2 separate regions of the Homo sapiens genome follow, and region 1 is linked to region 2. The links are contacts of gene promoters, found by promoter capture Hi-C in human tissues and cell types (Jung and others, 2019). All regions are on one chromosome and are shown on one strand. The core of a region is centred on a gene start or on the middle of the fragment in contact, and the rest is flanking DNA. Distances in the headings are between cores, read along the strand shown.

Region 1 (4,220 bases), core at 801-3,300, 590 kb before region 2:
AAATCCTCAGTTTCCTCTTTTGTGACTAGGGCTGGTAGCACCTTGCAGGGTGATGAGGATTAAGAGGAATGCATTTGTGTGTGCAAGGGACCCAGCACGTGATCAATGAATAGTGGCTGTGATTAACCCCTACCTGCCTTCCTCCTGGCCAGTGGGATCAGTGCTCAAAGGATCAGAGGCCTGGGAAAACTTGCAGAGGCAGTTCTGTTGCTGGAAGGAAGCTAGCCTGGGGACAGGGAGATGGTGCTTTGCAAACTGTAAAGGAATATAATCTATAATAGGTTATCATTTTGCTTCTGAGCCCAGAGACTTTTCAACAACCAATCAGGTCCCTTCAGACTGTGAAAAAAAGATACAGAGATAGTCAGAGACCTGCCCAAGGTCACACAGCTTTGACCACCTGTCCTAAGCAGACAGAGGTAAAGACCATTTTTATTTTCCCCGAAGGTGCAAATGACAGTGACCAGAAACACCTGAAATTCTACTTGGGGACCTGGGTCCCCAGGGACAAAATAAATAAATAAAAATCTAGAAGGTAAAAAGAAACTACACACCAATCCATGGTCTGGTGCTCTGGTGCCTGAATGGTTAAACCAGGTCTGGGGGTGGGGGTGGAGTGAGGGTTCAAATGTCGCCTTCAAGGTCGGGTTACTCTGAACACAATCACTCAGGAGAGAGCCAGGCCTGGCACTGCCTGCAACCAGCTTTTCACCAAGCCTCAGGGCAGCCCATTCCCACAGCAAGAACTCCAGGATCCTAGGGTGCCAGCTAGAAATGGGGGAAGGGTTCAGGAGCCTCTGGATGTCTCCCTGCCAGGAGCTGACCCAGCACCCTTGTTACTAACTCCCTGGATGATCGTGGACAATTCCCTTCTCTGAGCCTCAGTTTTCCAATCTGTAAAAGACAGGTCTCAAAGAGACAAGCCTCCCTCTGTCCCAGCCCAGTAACCAAGCTGGGCATTGCTCCGATTACCGGTGGAGACAGCCAGGAGGGGGCTGGCTCCCTCAGGGCCTCAGAGACAGAGGTGCATTGAAGTTGGAGCTTGTAATCTAGGCAGCAGATCCGAAATCCCTGCTGGATCCGAGGGCTAGGGAGGCTCTCGGGATGTAAACAAACCTCCTGTGTTCTCAGAGCAGAGTAGAGAGCCCACGCTGCAGCCTTATCTCAGCTGATTAGATCAGCCCTGGGTGCTGGCTTCCTGCCTCTTCCCAGCCTCCCTCACCGACCCCCAAGGAAGCCATCCTCCAGACCAGGTCAGTCTGTCCCACAGACGGCTCCGGCAGGGCTTCTCCAAGGCAAGGAGTATCCCCACTCTGGGTAGCCGGGCCAGCCATGTGCCACATCTGCCCCCACGCCCAGAGGCTAGAGTGACACCGCCAGTCCCCGCAGGCCTGGCCACTGACTGCTGGGCTTCACCAAGTCACTGTTTCCACACATACCAGCCTCTCCCTGCCTCCCCTTTCCATTACCCCAGGTGTCACCTGACCAGCAGCCTCTTCTACTGTGCCAGAGAAAACTGGAGCAGCCGAGCTCCCGGGCCTGGAGGACAGGGGGAGGGGTGAGATGCAGCCTGAAGGGGTGGGGGCCGCTGAATAGGAAGGTCTGGGCTGAAGGTGGGGGTTGGGGGAAGCAGGAGGCAAGAACAAGGCTGGGAAGTGGGGGAGGGAGGAAGGATGGCTGTAGAAAGGTCAAAGCCAGAAAGAACTGCTGAGATCAGAGTGACCTTTTGGGGAGTACTGCAGCCCCCTGAAAAGGATAAAAAGGTCTAAACCCCAATAACTGTAACTCTTAGTTTACATTTTCAACATATGCACAGACACCACCTCCCCAAAGCCAAACTCTGGCCGGGTTAAGAACCCTCGTCTAGGTGCTAATAAAGCCAGAACTTTACAAGTTTGCCAAACAGCGATGATGACCTTTGAGTGCCACAGGTGTTTTATAGAGGACACTGGAGTTCACATCAACAAAGTGACGTATTAACTGTGTGTGTCCCTGGGTGAGCAGCAGAGCTAGGACGGGGGCTGGAGTTTTCTGTACCCTCTTTTTCAGTCACCCAGCCTTCAGCAGATGGGACCAGAGAGGCCCCAGTGAGATGCAAGAATGTGCCCAAGGTCACCACTGTGTTAGTTAATGACAAACAAGCCCAAGAAGTCAGGCTTATTCTTCTAAGGTTAAATGAGACCCCAACTGTTGACATATGTGTTCTCTCTCCTCCCTCTCTAGGGCACCATGCAGTGAAAACATACGAGAAACTGGCTTTTCAGAACACTGTACCTTTTCTGTCCACCAACACCCCACCCCTCAAAGTGCTATTTGCAATCACTCAGCCTCCTTAAGGGTAGAAACTCTGCCCCTCCAGCACAGGAGGGTGACCCCAGGTCCTGGACAGTGTCCAGAGTGGTCTGATACCCTTGGCAAACCCCCTGCCCCCTCTCCCTCCAGGCTGCAAACTGTTCAGCATGAGGCTCCAGCAAATCCCAGCAGGAGAGGTGGGGCTGCCCAGAACTGGTTCTTGTTTAAACATAAACCCATTCGATAATTAGCAAACAGCCCACTTCTAAGATAAACAAATAGGAGATTTGGACTCCAAAAGCCCCACCCTAGATTTCTCCCTTCCCACCTCCCAGCTGTGGGGGTAGATAAGGGGGATAAGGGGGATGGAGAAAGCTTTCCAGGAGACCTGGGCTCAGAATCTTCAGAGATAGGACCCCCTGGCATGAAGGTGGCCTGGGCAAGGAAGGGAACTGTCACTAAGTAACACCTCCTCCCTACCAGGCATGGTACTAGGTGCCTTTATTTACAGCCCTGTCGTCTCCTTTAAGCTTCGCCACACCGGTATCATGATCTTCTTAACAGACCAGGAGGCTGGGGCTCAGAGGTGGAGTAGCATGACTGAATTCATGTAGCCAGTAAGAGGTGGACTTCGCACGTCTGGAGTTAAGTCTGTGTAACACCAAGCCAATGTTTCAATGCCCTCTGGCCAGCCCCAGGAAGCAAAGAGGAGTCCTCACAAACATCAGAAAATCCTGGGGTCACACCAAACCTGAACAGTACCAGCTTTTGCTCTCTGAAAAAATGCAGGCCAGTTGCAGCCTCAGTTTTGCCTTAAAGAGGAAAAAAGTACTACCTGCTCTGCAGAGGTCTAAAGCCCAATTTTGAGGACTGGCTGCACAATGTACAATGTCAAAGTCTACATGCAGGCAAGGGGCTGTGAAAGTGCGGGACCTAGTACAAACATGTCCTGTATGTCCCCTCGAGCCCCGGACACTGAAACAGTGACTCCCAAAGGACAAGGTAAAACTCTGAGCTCATTCCAACACCCCCACCACAGAGCTGTCCTATTAGCCAAGAGTTTGAAAGGAAATGGGTGACTCAGGCAGGCTACGCTAGCATGCAGTGACTCACAGCGCTCGGTCCAGCCCCTTACCCCAATTTTAAGCATTCATTTGGAAATCACACTCGCCTGTCCAGTCCGGGAGGTTGAAGGACAGCTAGGAGCCAACTTCTCCCAACAGGGAGATGGGGCTGGGAGCCCAGCCTGGCTTCCCCAGCTCCTCATTCAGGCAGGCTCAGCACTCCAAGTCCTTGGAAAAGCCCTCTGTTTCTAGGAGCTGGGGATGGCAGGAGCTGAATGTCCCCCCGCCACCCCAACTTCTCTTCTGAGACTGGGATTTGTTTAGACTCTTCACCAAGGAGGCCAGCAAAGGGCCCCTCCCCTCATCAATGGGCTCTCTGGGCAGGAAGGACCCTTGGAAGGCAATGGTCCAGCCTCCTTATTTTAGAGTTGGGGACACTGAGACCCAGAGACAGGGCATGTTTGCTCAAGGTCACCCAGCAACGCAGAAGTAGGACCTAAGGTATCTACCTTCAAACCCAGCAAATTTCCTCATCTGGAATATTCTGAGGACACTCAAACCAGACACCTTGCCCTATCAGAAGGACCTGGTTCTGACCTTAGGAAGCCACTGCATTGTTCCGAGCATCAATTTCCTGTAAAAATAGAGAAAATGGTACCTCGCAGTACTGGGAGATACTCATACTAGCAATAAATAACAGTAATGAACCATTTAGAATAAAGTTACATGCACGAATTTATTCATTCATACAAGCATTTCCTGAGTACAAACTAGGGGACAGGTATTTCACAAAAACAAATAGAGCAGAGTTCCTGCCCTCAGTGTGCGGGGGGAGAGAGGGAGGGATTCAGCATTTGGTGGAGT
Region 2 (4,440 bases), core at 1,941-4,440:
CTCCTGAGTAGCTGGAATTACAGGCGCTTGCCACCATGCCCAGCTAATTTTTGTATTTTTAGTACAGATGGGCTTTCACCCTGTTGGCCAGGCTGGTCTCAAACTGCTGACCTCAGGTGATCCACCCGCTTTGGCCTCCCAAAGTGCTGGGATTACAGGCGTGAGCCACCGCACCCAGCTGAGAAGAGGCTGGTTTTGACATGCGGAAAGTGAGCAAACGGAGAAGATGAGGCATGTATCAGGTGAAAAGCAGTGCTGAACACTGTGAGATAGAGAAACCTTTAAGATACTTAACTATCCAGGCCGGAGGCGGTGGCTCACGTCTGTAATCCCAGCACTTTGGGAAGCCGAGGTGGGCGGATCACCTGAGGTGGGAAGTTCGAGACCAGCCTGACCAACAGGGAGAAACCCCGTCTCTACTAAAAATACAAAATTAGCCGGGCGTGGTGGCGCATGCCTGTAACACCAGCTACTCAGGAGGCTGAGGCAGGAGAATCGCCTGAACCCTAGAGGCGGAGGTTGCAGTGAGCCGATATTGCACCACTGCACTCCAGCCTGGGCAACAAGAGCGAAACTCCGTCTCAAAAAAAAAAAAAAAAAAAAAGATTGAACTATCCAGGGCCACTGTGTCCACTCAGACCAGTCACATCGCCTGAATCTAGATCCCTTCTTCACAAAACAGGGAGGCCAGAGTGGTTTAATGGAACCAGCCCTGCATTTTGGTGTTGAGAACTCCGGGCTTAAAATCCCAGTTTTGTTACTTGTTGATGGCTGTGTGAACCTGGACAATGACTTCGCCCCTGCCCCTCGCTCCAACCTGTTTGCTCATGTGCAGATTTAGGTAATAATTCACAGAATTCCATGATAAAACAGAAGACTAGGCACTTGGGATGTTTGGTATCTTGGTTATCAATTAAGAGAATCTGAACAATGAATGAGAAAATACTTTGAAAACATAAAAGAATAGATAAAAGGCCGGGCGCGGTGGCTCACGCCTGTAATCCCAGCACTTTGGGGGGCCGAGGCGGGCGGATCATGAGGTCAGGAGTTTGAGACCAGCCTGGCCAACATCGTGAAACACCGTCTCTACTAAAAATACAAATAAAATTAGGTGGGAGTGGTGGCGGGTGCCTATAATCCCAGCTACTTGGGAGGCTGAGGCAGGAGAATTGCTTGAACCCGGGAGGCAGAGGTTGTAGTGAGCCGAGATCGCGCCACTGCAATCCAGCCCGGGCGACAGTGCGAGATTTCGTCTCAAAAAAAAAAAAGGGTAATAATCACTACATGGTTTTTAAACTTTAGTGAAAGCGCGGGCTAGCTGGGGGGCATGAGCATGGAAAACTGGTTATCCCGTAGGTCAAGAGCGACCACGTAGTTTACTGCCCAAAGCAGTACTTTTTTTTGAGACAGGAGTCTCACTCTGTCGCCCAGGCTGGAGTGCAGTGGCGCGATCTCGACTCACTGCAACCTCTGCCTCCCGGGATCATGTGATTCTCCTGCCTCAGCCTCCCGAGTAGCTGGGATTACAGGCGCGCGCCACCAGGCCTGGCTCATGTTTGTAATTTTAGTAGAGACGGGGTTTCGCCGTGTTGGCCAGGCTGGTCTTGAATTCCTGACCTCAGGTGGTCCACCTGCGTCGGCCTCCCAAAGTGCTGGGATTACCGGGGTGAGCCACCACGCCCGGCCCAAAGCAGGGCACTTCTGAAAAAGGAGGCAATATTAGTAATTATGCCAGGGCAGCAGGCATAAATCAAAGCTGGCCCCCCACCCTTCCAGAACTGAGACAGGACCCAGGAGTCTGGTTTCCCATCAGGCCTCTTATCTGAACGAGAAGCTCTGCGAGGGCAGAACTGCTGTGCCTATATAGAGCTGGCTTATTTCTGGAGGGCTCAAATCTACTTGGAGCAATGCTCATGCCACTGTGAGATGATCACGGCTAACCGATTCAGCACTTAGGAAGCGCCAGGTATTGCGCTGAGGACTTCACATGCATCACCTGAGTTAATTCTCACCAAACCTTTATGAGGTAGGCGGATTTATTATCTTCCACTGAGGAAACTAAAATTTAAATTGGTTAACTCCTTCAAGGCCACACATTTTGGGTGGAGGAGCAGGGATTGAAATCAGATGAGGATCATGAACCCTCGTTCTCAATTACTACTCATATCGGTGCCTCCGTTTTTCTTGAGCGTCCGCCTGCCTGCCCCCACGCTGGCGTGCAGCCAGGACCATGGACATCTGAGAGGCTACTCAGCCGGGGTACCTACAGCCCCTGGCTCCACACAAGCGCCGGTCTGACAGCAGGTGGCAAGCTTTTCCTCTTCTCAAGCTAGCACTGGAAGGGATGCTTGCTGGGGAGACCGGAGATGGGTGGAGCTACCACTCGGACGCCTGCAGGCTCCTACCAAAAAGAATCCTGCAGGGAGCCGGATGAGGAGCACCTCACAGCTGCCAGTTCCCTGCCAGGCTACCCGCTGTAGCTGGTTTGAGGGCTCAGTGAGGCTTTGAACTGCAACTAATGGCCACAGATGTCAATGTTGGAAAGGCCCTACAATGCATTTAGTTGATTTCCCAACTCTGCCGAAAGCCATCTCTATTACTTGCCCCCGAAGGCTAGTTTAAGTTGCTTCTACTCAAGAGCATTTACAGCTTGGGTTCGATGTATATGTAGCCCGGGCATGGGGCAGGGCTTCTTAACATTTGGACACCACGCAGCACAAAGGCCCAGAGAGGGAAAGAGACTGGCTGGAAGAGGCAGAGCCGCGCGGGTGCCAGGACCCAGGTCCTTGCTACGTCCGGAGCCTACGTCACCACGATGCCTCCCCTGGGCCGGCGGCAGAACCCGAGACCCCCGCAGGTTCTAAGACAGCCCCCACGCCCCCCAGTGCGCACGCTCAGTCCAACCCCGCCGCGCACCGCCCACCGCGAACATCCGGCTCCTGCGTGTGTGCTCGAGGGGGAAACTGAGGCGGGGACGTGCCAGTGAATTCATTCCTTCCTCAGTCCACCCGCAGGCCTACAAAGCTGTCTCCCCTTCCTCAGCGCCACAAGGAACAGCAGGGACGGATGGGAAGAAGGGGAGGGGGCCGAAAGCAAGCTGGGTGCGAGGAGCCAGCCGACCCTGCCACACTCAAGATGGCGGCGCGGCCGCGGCGAGGTCCCTCAGAGGCGGTACCAGCGCATGCGCAGCGCGGAGTCCCGGCCCGGGACACAAGATGGCGGCAGCGGCGCTGGGGAGGGCGAGGCGGAGGCGGCAAAACGGGCGGTCGAGCAGAACGTGTAGCCGCGTCCCCTCCAGTCCGCTCCGGGCAGGTAAGAGTCCCAGGAAGCCATGGTCCCGCAGCGAGCCGCGCCAGGGTCTGGGGATCCGAAGCTGGGGGGCGGCGGCCCCTCCGGCGCTTTCTGCTCGGGACTGCCGCTTGCCCTGTCTCTGTTGCCGCCGCCATCTTAGACCCGCGGGTGGGCGGCCGCGCCGGTGGCCGAAGTGAGGGAGGTGGGCCCGGAGAGCCCCAGCGGAGCGGGCTCTAGGGCCCCTCCGCTGCTGCCGCCGCCACCGCCTTTGTGTCGGGCTCCGACTCTGAGTCGCCTCAGCCCGGGGGCGGGAGCGCGCGGCGGGGCGGGGGGCGGAGCCCGAGAGATGGGCCGGCGCGCGCGCGCGCGCCAAACAGCCCACCCTCGCTGGGGTAGGGGGAGGGGAAGGTGCGCGCGCGCGCGCGCGCTGGAGCTCGCCTCTCGCCTTCGTGCGCCGTCGCGCCTGCGTACTTTGTTCGCCCTTTGACTCCTCCCTACTGGGCCGGAGAATTCTGATTGGTACATTGCGGAGATGGTCCCGCCCCACGTGCCTCCAATCCCGGACTCGGACTCTGGCTTCTGGTGGGTTTTTCTGGTTGCGCAGATAGAGTTGTTTATCCTTGAGCAGCGGTAATTCTCAAACTGCGGTATGCGTGGGGGTCGGGAAGCCACAGGATAAATAAAGACGTTAACTTAAGAGCAGTTATGTCTTACTGGGAGCGTACAATGCTGGACTCTACATATAACGGTCGAGTGATTCCGGTTTATAAGCCGGAAAGCAGAAGGGCCCGGAATCCGGGTCTGTCCAACCCAGGGGCTGGTACTTCGGCCACAGACCTGCTGCGCTCAAGTCACATAGGAAATTAAAAATGGTTTTAATTGCAAAAAATGGGTACATTTTTTCAAATAGTGTGAAAAAATGAGTCATCCTGTCTCCCAGTCACTCTTACGGTGCGTTTTAAAAATACAAATTCTTGTGTGCCTCACCTCCGTATTTATTTCTGGCTTCTGAGATGCGCAGTGAGGCACAGGAGTCTGATTTTTTTTTTTTTTTTACAAACTCCAAGATGATTCTGATGCACAGCTGGCTTTGGAAATACTGCAGTGTCCCCATTTAGCCTCACACTAAGCTGTGCCGCTTGTGCGTAT

What was found. The method cuts DNA at HindIII sites, captures the fragments that hold promoters and counts their contacts. A contact is called where the count stands out against the background at its distance.
Region 1: a contact is called between a fragment that was not itself captured here and the fragment with the promoter of PCIF1 in region 2, in 1 of the 25 tissues and cell types used here (H1 embryonic stem cells).

Annotation. Positions count from the first base shown.
Region 1 is chr20:45,341,042-45,345,261 of GRCh38, forward strand. All of the region lies in intron 1 of SDC4 (syndecan 4), which reads right to left. Among named protein-coding and RNA genes, the nearest start is that of SDC4, 5.3 kb to the right of the region's middle. RefSeq lists an enhancer at 1,392-2,286. The HindIII fragment of the contact is 7,626 bases long and covers 1-4,220 here.
Region 2 is chr20:45,931,493-45,935,932 of GRCh38, forward strand. It overlaps PCIF1 (phosphorylated CTD interacting factor 1), which reads left to right and starts at 3,191. Exons shown (of 17, transcript NM_022104.4): 1 at 3,191-3,312. LOC107985388 (pre-mRNA-splicing factor cwc22-like) reads right to left here and starts at 3,579. Exons shown (of 1, transcript NR_171669.1): 1 at 2,002-3,579. RefSeq lists enhancers at 1,117-1,809, 2,092-2,241, 2,501-3,192, 3,193-3,883 and a silencer at 3,512-3,721. The HindIII fragment of the contact is 7,503 bases long and covers 1-4,440 here.